Regions from separate parts of the Homo sapiens genome. Here region 1 is linked to region 2. Evidence: promoter capture Hi-C in 16 types of primary human blood cells and fetal thymus (Javierre and others, 2016). All regions are on one chromosome and are shown on one strand. The core of a region is centred on a gene start or on the middle of the fragment in contact, and the rest is flanking DNA. Distances in the headings are between cores, read along the strand shown. Region 1 has its middle 44 kb from the start of MARCHF8. Region 2 holds the start of OR13A1 (olfactory receptor family 13 subfamily A member 1).

What was found. Contacts are between HindIII fragments. The CHiCAGO score rates a contact against its expected background, and 5 or more counts as called.
Region 1: a contact is called between a fragment that was not itself captured here and the fragment with the promoter of OR13A1 in region 2, in 4 of 17 cell types (M2 macrophages, monocytes, total B cells and 1 more). The highest score is 8.3, in M2 macrophages.

Annotation. Positions count from the first base shown.
Region 1 is chr10:45,575,937-45,581,840 of GRCh38, forward strand. It overlaps a transcript of MARCHF8 not described here. Among named protein-coding and RNA genes, the nearest start is that of MARCHF8, 44 kb to the left of the region's middle. The HindIII fragment of the contact is 3,334 bases long and covers 94-3,427 here.
Region 2 is chr10:45,311,127-45,317,529 of GRCh38, forward strand. OR13A1 (olfactory receptor family 13 subfamily A member 1) reads right to left here and starts at 4,482. Exons shown (of 4, transcript NM_001004297.3): 1 at 4,398-4,482. The HindIII fragment of the contact is 10,818 bases long and covers 1,947-6,403 here.

The DNA.
Region 1 (5,904 bases), core at 511-3,010, 260 kb after region 2:
TTTACCTACCCAAATCCTATAAAATGGCCCCACCCCTTTCTCCCTTTGCTGACTCTTTTCGGACTCAGACCGCCTGCACCCAGGTGATTAAAAAGCTTTATTGCTCACACAAAGCCTGTTCCGTGGTCTCTTCACAGGGACATGAGTGAAATTTAAACTATCTGACTTCAAGGCTTCTTACAGAGCTACAATAATCAGGAGAGTACTGTGCTGGCCTAAAGACAAACAAACAGATCAAGAGAACAGAATACAAAGTCCAGAAACAGACTCACACATATACAGTTAAATGATTTTCAGGGGAGGCATCAAAGCAATTCAATGGGGAATTGCTTTTCAACAAATAGTGCTGGATCAGTTGGATATCCAATACAGAACAATGATGAACTTCAACCCCATCTCACACCATGAATAAAAAATAATTTGAGATTGATCATAGATCTGAACCTAAAGCCAAAACTATAAAACTTCTAGAAATAAATACAGCATATCTTTGCACAGAGTGTAGGCAAGATGCAAGAAAAGCATTTGATGAAATTCAACCTAAGGAAGATGCAAGAAGTACCACCCCCTCATGGTGTTAGAATAACACTGGTAGAATCAATATGAAATCATATTGTTAATAGTTGTTAATATATGTGTGTATACATAGATGTTGCTAGGGTATGAACGTGTCCCCAAAATTCTCATGTTGAAACTTAATCACGCCCTGGTGTCCTGGCTCAAGCCTGTAATCCTAGCACTCTGGGAGGCCAAGGCAGGAGAATTGTTTGAGCTCAGGAATACAAAACTAGCCTGGACAACACAGTGAGGCTTCATCTCTACTACAAATAAAAATTAAAAAAAAAAAAAAAAAACTAGCCAGGCATGGTGGCAAGCACCTTAAAGCATCCCAGCTTAAAAGTCCCAGCTACGCACGAAGCTAAGGTGGGAAGATCACTGGAGCTCAGGAAGTCAAGGCTACAGTGAGCTACAATTGCACCACTGCACTCCAGCCTGGGTGATAAAGTGAGACTCTGTCTCTAAACAAAAAGAGAAAAGAAAAAAAAAAAAAAAAGAAACTTAATTGCCAATGCTAATATTAAGACTTGAGGACTTTATGAGGTGATTAAATCATGAGGGCAGAGACTTCATGAATGGGATTAGGGACTCATCAAAGAGCCAGAGGGTGAAATAAGCCAGGCACAGAAAGAGAAACATCACATGTTCTCACTTATTTGTGGGATCTAAAAATCAAAACAATTGTACTAATGAACATAGACAGTAGAAGGATGGTTACTGGAGGCTGGGAAGTTAATGGGGGGCTGTGGGGAAGGTGGGGATGGTTAATGGGCACAAAAAAAAAATTGAAAGGATGAATAAGACTCACTATTTGATAGAACAACAGGATGACTACAGTCAATAGTAACAATTATACATTTTAAAATAAGAGTGTAATTGGATTGCTTGTAACACAAAGGATAAATGCATGAGGGGATGTATACCCTATTTGCCGCGATATGATTATTTCACATTGCATGCCTGTATCAAAATATCTCATGCACCTCACAAATATATATATACCTACTATGTGCCCACAAAAATTAAAAATTAAAAATATTATTTAAAAAAGGGCTGGAGGAGCTAGTCAGCCCTTTTGCCCTTCCACTTTTCCATCACACGAAGATACAGCAAGAAGGCCCTCACCAGAGAATGAATGCTGGTGCCTTGAACTTCCCAGCTGCTAGAACCATAAGAAATCAATTTCCACTGTTTATAAATTACCCAGTCTCAGGTATTTTGTTATAGCAGCATAACGAACTAAGATATATAAATTTAAAATAAGTATCTGTAATCCTACCACTTTAAGGAGGCCAAAGCAGAGGACTGCCTGTGGCTAGGAGTTAAGACCAGCCTGGAGAATACAGCAAGATCCCATCTCTACTAAAAATTTTAAAAATAGCTGGGCATGGTGGCCCATGTCTGTAGTCCTAGCTACTTGGGAAACCAAGGTAGGGGGATTTGCTTGAGCCCAGGAGTTCGAGGTTACAGTGAGCTATGATCATACCACTGCATTCCAGCCTAGGAGACAGAGTGAGACCCTGTCTCTAAAAAAATTGTTTAATAAAAAATTAAAATATGGATATACATATATCTATTTACACACAAACAAACATATCCTAGCTGTGGCCACTGAGTAGGCCTAGAAATAATGACACATCAGTCACAATAAGCACATCATATATCCAGATCTTGATTTCCAAATACCATTTTTTCCTCACTAATAGTAACAATACTCCTCGAAGAAAAGCTGATTTGAGGGGTGGGCCATACAAAATGAGCCCAGATCATCTTGTTGCACCAGAAAGTAAATAGGTACTCAAAGAATTCTGGAGACATATGAAAACACAGAAGCCAGTTTGAAAGAGTTTACACAGACCAAATTTGGGATGATTTTAGTATCAAGATAATAACAGTAATGAGTTACAGACCACTAAATAAGAATATGTATATGAATCATTCAAATAAATAATTGAACAAATAAATAAATGGGATGTGGAGGGAGGAGGGAAAGGTCTTCCTTACAGTAGAATGCCAATCAATAGCTACAGAAGGAAGCATGCAGTTGGAAAGTCATCACTGGACGCTAAAACTAGTGGGTGAAAGTTTGATGAGGAACAGGATATTAACACATTGTCAACAAATATTAACTTCAAAGAGAAAAACAGTATCATGGCAGTAGAGAAATCTGGCAGATACCAACTAAACCAACTGTTTGATGTTATCAGCAATATTAGAACAAACTGACATCAGGTTGCTCCTAATATGCTGCACTGAGAAAAATAAAAATCACTTTTTTGTTATCCTTGCATAAAATGCATGAACTGAATCTAACCATGAGGAAATTTCAGACAAGTAAAAAGTGAGGGACATTCTAAAAAAATAACTGATCTGTACTCTTCCAAAAGATCAATGTCAAGAATGACAATGAAAGGTTAACAAAGTACTCCAGATTAAAGGAGACTAAAGAAATATGATAATTTCATGGCGATTCAGGACTGGATACTGGACATGGAAAACAAAAGGGCAATAAAGGACATTATAGGGACAACTGTTGAAACTGCACTATGAATTAGATAACAACACCGTACCAATTGTTAAATTTCTTGACTGCTAATTTTACTGTGGTTATGCAAGAGAATACCCTGGCTCTTAGAAATACATGTTGAAGTATTCTTAGGACTTATACAACTTAAACTCAAATGAATCACAAAAAATACATTCACATATATGCATAAAAAGAAAGGGGGAAAGAGTGATAAAGCTAATGAGGTAAAATACAAACAACTGGTGAATCTTAGTAAATTATATGTAGTAATTCTCTATATTCTTTGTGTATTTTTTCTGTAAGTTACACATAAAGCAAAAGACATAACTAGAAAACTAGGTAAGCTTTTTTTTTTTACAAAAATGACAGACAAAAAGTCACTACCTTTCATATATAAACAAGCTATATAAAGCAAATTTCTTTTAAAAAGCACTATAACCCCTCCAAAAGATTAACAGGAAAAGGACATGTACAGCCAACTGCACAAAAGAAGCTAATGAAGTTTTAAAGGAAAGCAAAAACAAAAAGTCAATGAAAGATGAGATGTTTTCCACCTGTTAAATCGGTAATTTTCTTTTTAGAAAACATCAACATTGGCAAGGATGTCCTAAAATGGCCACTCAACACCTTGCTAGTGGAAGCATTAATTAGAATCTTTTAGGAAAGCAGTTCAGCAATATGAATCAAGAGCCTTAAAAATATCCACACCAGGCCAGGCGTGGTGGCTCACGCCTATAATCCCAGCACTTTGGGAGGCAGAGGTGGGTGGATTACCTGAGATCAGGAGTTCGAGACCAGCCTGGCCAACATGGTGAAACCCTGTCTCTACTAAAAATACAAAAGTTAGCCGGACGTGGTGGCGGGCATTGTAATCCCAGCTACTCGGGAGGCTGAGACAGGAGAATTGCTTGAACTCGGGAGGCGGAGGTTGCAGTGAGCCGAGATCATACCACTGCACTCCAGCCTGAAAGACTCCGTCTCCAAAAAAAAAAAAAAAAAAAAAAAAAAAATCCACAGTATTCTACTTCATGACACTATCTGAAAGAAATAATCTAAACTGTGGACTAAAATTTATGCTGAAGATATTCATCAAATGATAACTATAATAGCAAAATTCTTAAAATAATCCACATTAAACAATAGCGAAATCATTACGTAAACAACTTAGGATATAACCACAAAACGCAATATGCAGTCATTAGAAGTTATTTAAAATCAGGAAATATGACATAATAAATGTTAAGAGAATAAAGTTTACAAAATGGGCAGTTAGGATGATCTTAAGTAAAAAAAAAAATTCATAAAGCTCAGAACAGACATATTATAAACAGTGACTGTTTGAAAATGAAAATAAGTAGGGAATATGAACACCTGTCCCAGTCTCCAGTTTATGAGATCTCACCCCTCACCATCTGTGAACTACCACCGCTTACATGATGGTGCCTGTCTCACTCCCTGTGCACTCCAAGTATTTCTTGAGGCCATGGCACCATACCTGGCTGCATTCAGTAAACATTTGCTGCTTCAAATTTACAAACTCTCCCACCTCATTTCATATATGTAAAAAATGTATCTAGCTATTTAAGTCACCTGAAAACTGAAACTATATTGAATATGAAGTTCGTCAAGAACCAGTTTCACTTTTCTTTGCTTCTTTCAAATAAAAACATTAAGGAGGAAACATGCTTGGAGCTTTCGTTAACAACAGACTCCAAGGCAGGCTTGAGACAATATAAAGATACCACATACCTGATTAGTATTGTGCGCTAGGACCACCGGTGGTATTGTCAGTTTATTTTCATGTCAAAGATCATTTGCTTTAGCAGTCTAATCTTAGCTACCACAAAAAAACACACCCATCTGTGTGCTGCCAGAGCTTAGCCCCTACCCAGGGCCACACCTGACTCCAGCTCTGCCCTATTCCCCACTGATTCCACCTTCTACTTGGCAACTTTCTGCCTAATTAGCTAAGCAGAGCACAGTCAGGTAAGAGGAGGCTGTGAGCAAGGCTGGGAACACGGAGAAACCAGACAAGAGTAGGAAGACCTTAACCATGGCAGAGGACCAGCTGAGCGGTATTCGTAAGTCTGTGGTTCTCAACAGGGGCAGTTTATCACCCCAGGGGATTTTGCCAGTGTCTTGGAGATATTTTTAGTTGCCACAATTGTGGTGGTGCTAATGGCACCTAGTAGGAAGAGGCCAGGGATGCTACTGAACATCCTACAATACACAGAACAGTTCCCCACAACAAAGAATTATCCAACCCCAACTGTCAGCAGAGCTAAGGTCAAGAAATCCTACCACAGACTGATGCATCCACTAATACAGTGGAGTCTACTGCACAGTACAATTCAGCAGGAACAAGACACCCAGTGGTTAGAGGAGACCTGAGGTAGTTCAGGAAATGTAAACACACACATTACCTCCTCACTCAGATGCTAAGGTGATCAAAATTCTACCTCAAGAATTGGGAATGAGGGCATTGTAATTAATTAATTAATCAAATAAAACTAGTAAGAATGCTTTTTTCCCCAAGGGCTTGCTCCTATAAATATCTTATATTTCTTCAAAGACTGCTTCACAGCAGAAACTGTAAGAAGATAATACTATCAAAATTGCCCAGACTGGTAAACATCTCCAGAAAACTTGGCAACACACCCACATAATCAATGACAAATTTAATTTAGCTGTGTATCTCAACAGGCCCTTCCTACTAGGTGCCATTAGCACCCCCACAGTTGTGGCAACTAAAAACTCAAACTCAAAGTTCCCAGCTTAGTTTACGGGGAAAGTGTCAAGCTTTCAAAGATCACTCAAAA
Region 2 (6,403 bases), core at 3,232-5,731:
TCAATTTTTCCAGGCCTATCCCCTAACCTCAGCAAGGACCAGCTATAAAACAATCCTTTTAAAACTTTTTAGTTATTTCTATCACCCAGCCATAGCCTTGGGTGCATTTCATATTTCTCAAGACATTCGCCTTCAACTTTCCCAACATATTATCTTGGGCTTGCATCTTACATGATTAAAAAGAGAAATACCATTGTATCAGAGCTCCTCAACTTAATTACTTCCCATCTCAATCTTTCTACATCTTTAACTTCAGTCTTGGTTGAGCTCCACCCTCTGTGCTTGTTCTTGAGAAACAAGCAAAAGAGCTAAGAAAGGCTTAGAGCAAACTGGTAAACATTGTTATTTTCTTTTAGGTATCCATATTGCGACAGGGTCTTGATATAATATCCATACTAGGTATAATTTGCATACCAGATATTCAAAGAAGTAGGAGAATATGGCCATAGTGAGAAAAATAAAATCAACTCAGAAATGACAAAAATAAGAGAACTAGTAGAGACATTAAAATAGTAGTGATACAAAGAGAGGAACAATAAACACTGGGGCCTACTTGAAGTTGGAGGGTAGGAGAAGGGAGAGGAACAGAAAAACAACTATTGGGTACTAGGCTTAGTACCTGAGTGATGAAATAATAAACAAACTCCTGTGACACGAGTTTACCTACATAACAAACCTGCACATGTACCTCTGAACCTAAGGTAAAAGTTGTAATAAAATAAAATAGTTGTCATAACTATATTTCATATGCTCAAGAAGCTAGAGAAAAGACTTAGCATATCAAATAGAGACAAAGAAGATATAAAAAGATGAACAATTTCTAGAGATGAAAACTACAATGTCTGAAATTAATAATACATTGGATGAGATTAACAGTGGATTAGACATTGCAAAAAAATTAGCAAATTAGGGAAAAGTATAATAAACCTGCCCAAATGAAATAGAAGTGGAAAAATAAACATAAGAACTGTAAGTGAGCTGTAAGACAACCTCAAATAGCCTAATATACATATAATTAGACCCCATAAGGGCATGAGAAATGGGAGAAGAACAGAAAAAAATTTGAATGAATAATGGCTACAATTTTTCTAAATGTAATGAAAAATATAAACCTACAGACTTAATAAGCTCAATGAACCCCAAGCACAATAAATATGAAGAAACTCACACCAAGCCACATGATCAAAATCAATAATAAAAATAAAATCTTAAAAACAGGCAGAGTAAAAAGGCACATTAAGTACAAAGACACAAAGATAAGAATTACAGCAGAGTTTCTATACAATCAGTACAAGCAAGAAGACAGTAGAGAAACACTAAACAGTACTGAAAGAAAAAAACTGTCAATGTAGAATTTTACACTCACTAAAAATACCTTCTGAAAATGAAGAAAAAACATTTCACAAATATAAAAGTTAAAGGAATTCATCATCAGAAGATATGAACAAAAAAAAAATGTTAAAGAAAACCCAGAGACTCACAGTGAGACACACTATAATCAAACTCTCAAAAGTCAAAGACAAAGAGACAATCTTGAAAGCAGCAAAAGAAAGTAACTTGTCATGTAAAAGGAAGCCTTTATAAAATTATCAGTGGATTTATCAACAGAAACCTTGCAGGCCAGAAGGCAGGGGGATAATATATTCAAAGAGCTGAAAGAAAAGAAAATTTCAACCAAAAATATTATATCCAGCAAAACCATCCTTCAAACATAAAGGAAAAATCAGCCTTTCCAGGATGAACAAAAACTGGGGAGTTCATTACCACTGGACCTGCTGTAGTATCTTGCAAGTTGAAACAAAAGGATGCTAAATAGTAACATGAAGTCTTATGAAAATATAAAGCTCTCCAGTAAAGATAAATATATGGACATATATAGAGACTGTACTATGCAGTTTTGGTACATAAATGCACTTTTAATTCTTGTATAGAATTTACAAGACAAAAGCTTAAAAATAACTATAAAACTGTGTTAATGAATACATTACATATGAAGATGTAACTTGTGACATAAGTAACCTAAGGTGAGGGTAGGAGCTTTGAAGAAATAGTTTTTGTACACAGTCGAAGTTATTCTCTTAACAGTTTAAAATAGCTTGTTAACACTTTAAGATGTTTTTTATAATTCTTATGGTAACCATAAAAAAATCTATAGAATACACACAAAAGGAAACAGGAAGGGAATCAAAATGTCACCACAAAAAAAAATCGACAAAACCCAAAAGAGGTCAGTAAGAGAAGGAATAAAAAACAAAATTTACAAAACATACAGGAAACAACAAAATGGCAAGTGTAGGTCCTTCCCTATCAGTAATTACTTTAAATGTAAATGGATTAAACTCCTGAATCAAAAGATATAGACTGGAAAATGGATTTGTAAAAAGGATCCAACTTTATCCTGTCATTTAGGTCTAAGAAACAAATATGCTTAAAATGAAAAAAAGGAAAAGTAAATGCCATGCAAATGGTAAATAAAAGCAAGCAGAAGTGACTATACTACTATCCAACAAAATAGACTTAAAGTCAAAAATAGTCACAAGACAAAAAAATGGATATTATATAACAAAAAGTCAATTCAGCAGAAAGATATAACAATTACAAATATATATACCTCTAATACCAGAGCTCCTAAATATCTGAAGCAAACATTGACAGATCAGAGAGGAAACATAAACAGCATAATAATGGTAGGCGACTTCAATTCCTCACTTACAATAATGGCTAGAACAACAAGACAGAAAATCGATAAGGAAATACAGTACTTGAACAACACTATAAATAGTGCTAACAAACATGTGCAGAACATTCCACCCAATAAAATCAGAATAGTATTTTTCTCAAGTTTACATGGAATATTCCCAAAGATAAATCACATGTTATACCACAAAAAAACTTGTAACAAATTTTAAAAGATTGAAATTATACAAAATATCTATTTTGATGAAAATGACATAAAACTAGACATCAGTAGCAGAAGGAAAACAAAAAATTCACAAATATGTGAAAATTAAACAACACAGTTTTCAACAAGCAATGGGTCAAAAAAGAAATCACAAGGGAAGTTAGAAAATATCTTGAGATAAAGGAAAATAAAAATACAATGTACCAAAATGTGTAAGATGCAGCAGAAGCAGTGCTAACAGAGAATTTTATAGCTATAAATATGTGCATTATAAAAGGAAGAAAGTGGCTAGGCATGGTGGGTCATGCCTGCAATCCCAGCACTTTGACAGGCTGAGGGAGGAGAACTTCTGGAGGCCAGGAATTTGAGACCAGCCTGGGCAACAAAGCAAGACCCCATCTCCACAACTTAAGAAAAAAAAAAAAAGAAGTAGAAGAAAGTTTGCAAATCAACAACCTAACTTTATACCTCAGGAAACTAGGAGAGAAAAAAAACTACACCCAAAGCTAGCAGAAGGAGGAAAATCCTAAAGATTAGATTAAATCAGAGATAAATGAAATATAGAATATAAAAACAATAGAAAAAAATCAACAAAACTAAGAGGTGGTTTTTGAAAACACCAACAAAATTAACAAATGCTTAGCTAGATTAACTAAGGAAAAAAGATTCAACTAATAAATCAGAAATAAAAAAGAGAACATTAGAACCCATGCCATAGAAATCAAAAGGATTATAAGAAAATACCATCAACAGTTAATTATATGTCAACAAATTGGATAATTTAGAAGTGCATAAATTTCTAGAAATATACAACCTAATAAGAGTGAATCATGAAGAAGTAGAAAAAACGAACAGACTTATAACTACGAAGGAGATTAAACTGGTTCAAAAACCTCCAAACAAACAACAGCCCAGAACCGGATGACTACCAAACATTTAAGGAAGAATTAGAACCAATGTTTCTCAAAGTCATTTACAAAAATGAATATAAAAAACACTTCAAAGCTCATTATATGAGGCCAGTATTACCCTGATTTCAAAGTCAAACAAAGACATTACATGAAAAGAAAACTACAGACCAATATTTGTGATGATCAGGTTGGCTTTATTCCTGGAATGCAAGAATGATAGAACATGTGGCAGGGTGTGCTGGCTCATGCCTGTAATCCCAGCACTTTGGGAGGCTGAGACAGGAGAATCCCTTGAACCCAGGAGGCAAATGTTGCAGTGAGCTGAGGTCATGCCACTGCACTCCAGCCAGAATGACAGAATGAGATTTCATCTCAAAAAAAAAGAATAATACAACATGCAAAAATCAATGTAATACACTATAGTAATAGAATAAAGGACAAAACAGCATGATCATTTATATTGATGTAGAAAAAATGTTTAACAAAATTTAACACCTTTTATCACGAAAACACTCAGCAAACTAGGAATAGAAGGAAAATAACATAATAAAGGCCATATATGAAAAATCCACAGGTAAACTTACACTCAATGGTAAAAGATTCAAACTTTTCTTCTGGATTAGGAACAAGACAAGTATACTCTGTCTCTTCGCTTCTATTCAATATAGTATTTGAATTTCCAAGCAGACCAATTAGGAAAAAAAAATTAAGCAAGAAAAGACATCCAAAGAATAAAAGAAAAAAGTAAAATTATCTCTGCTCACAGATGACTTGATCCTATATGCATAAAATCCTAGACTCCTGCATAAAATCTAGAAAACTGTTAGATGCATATATGCATAAAATCCAGAAAACTGTTGGAACTATTAAACAAATTCTGGAAAGTTGCAGGATCCAAAATCGACACACAAAAATCAGTTGCCTTTCTATAAATTAACTATAAACAATCCAAAGGTAATTAAGAAAATAATTTAATTACAATACCATCAAAAATAGTAAAATACTTAGGAATAAACTTAGCCAGGGAAATAAAAGGCTTGTACACTGAAAACTACAAAACAGTACTGAAAGAAGTCACAAATAAATGTAAAGACATTGGTATTCATGGATTGGAAGATTTAATGTTAAGATCTCCAAAATATCAGATGTATTCCCCAAATCTGTACAACATTATGTATTAATTTGAAAAGTCAATAGAACCCAAAGCAGTCTACAAATTATATGTAATCCCTATCAAAATCTAAGCTGCATTTTTTGAAAAAAGAGAAAAATTTATCTAAATATTCATATATACTCTGACTAGACAATCTTGAAAACTAACTGAGTTGAAGGTCTCATGCTCCGTGATCTCAAAACATGTTACAAGACTACAGTAATTAAAACAGCATGACACTGGCTTAAAGAGAGACATATAGACCAATGGAATAGAATAAAGAACCCATTAAAAGAAAACTCCACATATATGGTCAAATAATATTTACAGCATTCCAGATCCGCTCAATGAGGGAAGAACATTCTCTTCAACAAACAGTGTTGGGAAACTTGGATATCCACACATGAAAGAGTGAAGTTGAAACTTTGTCTTATGCCATATACAAGAATTAACTCAAAATGGATTTAAAACTTAAATGGAAGATCTAAAACTATAAAACTCTTAGAATAAGGGGATATGGCAATTATTTTTTAATATGACACCAAAAGTACAGACAACAAAAGAAAAAATAGACAATTGGGACTACATCAAACTTTTTAAAACTTTTATGCATTAAAGGACATAACAATGTTAAAAAAAACTTGTGGATGGAAGAAAATATTAGTAAATTATATATCTGATAAAGAGTTAATATCCAGAATATATAAATAATTTCTACAACACAATATTTAAAAATAATATGATTTTAAAATGGCAAAAGGATTTGAATAGACATTTCTTTTAAAATTATATATGAATGGGCAAAAAACATAAGAAAAAATGCTCAGCATCCAAACTGGAAAGGAAATCATTAGAGAAATGTAAATCAAAACCACAATGTAATATCTCCTCACAAAAATTGAGTGGTTTACTATTAAGAAAAAGAAATATTAGATAGGATGCAGTTGATAGCAAACAGCTTAAAAGCAACGTGACCCCAGATACTAACTCAAAGCCACACAAAAAACAAAAAGCTCTGGCAAAGACATTTATTTATATTTTTATTTATGTATTTATTGAGGGTTTTGCTGTTTTGTTGTTGTTGTTGTTTACTGTTTTATTTTTGCTTTTTCAACTTTTATTTTAGATTCAGAGGGCACTTGTGCAAGTTTGTAACCTGGGTATATTGTGTGATGTTGAGGTTTGGGGTATGAATGGTCCCATTACCCAGATACTGAGAATAGTACTCAACAGTTTTTCAACACTTTCTCCCTTCCCTCCTTCACCACCCCAATAGTCCCCAGTGTCTATTGTTGCTATCTTTATGTCCATCAGTACCCAGTGTTTACCTCCCCCTTATGAGTGAGAATATGTGGTATTTGATTTTCTGTTTCTGTATTTGTTTGCCTAGGATAAAGTCCTCTAGCCAAATCCATGTTGCTGCAAATGACATGATTT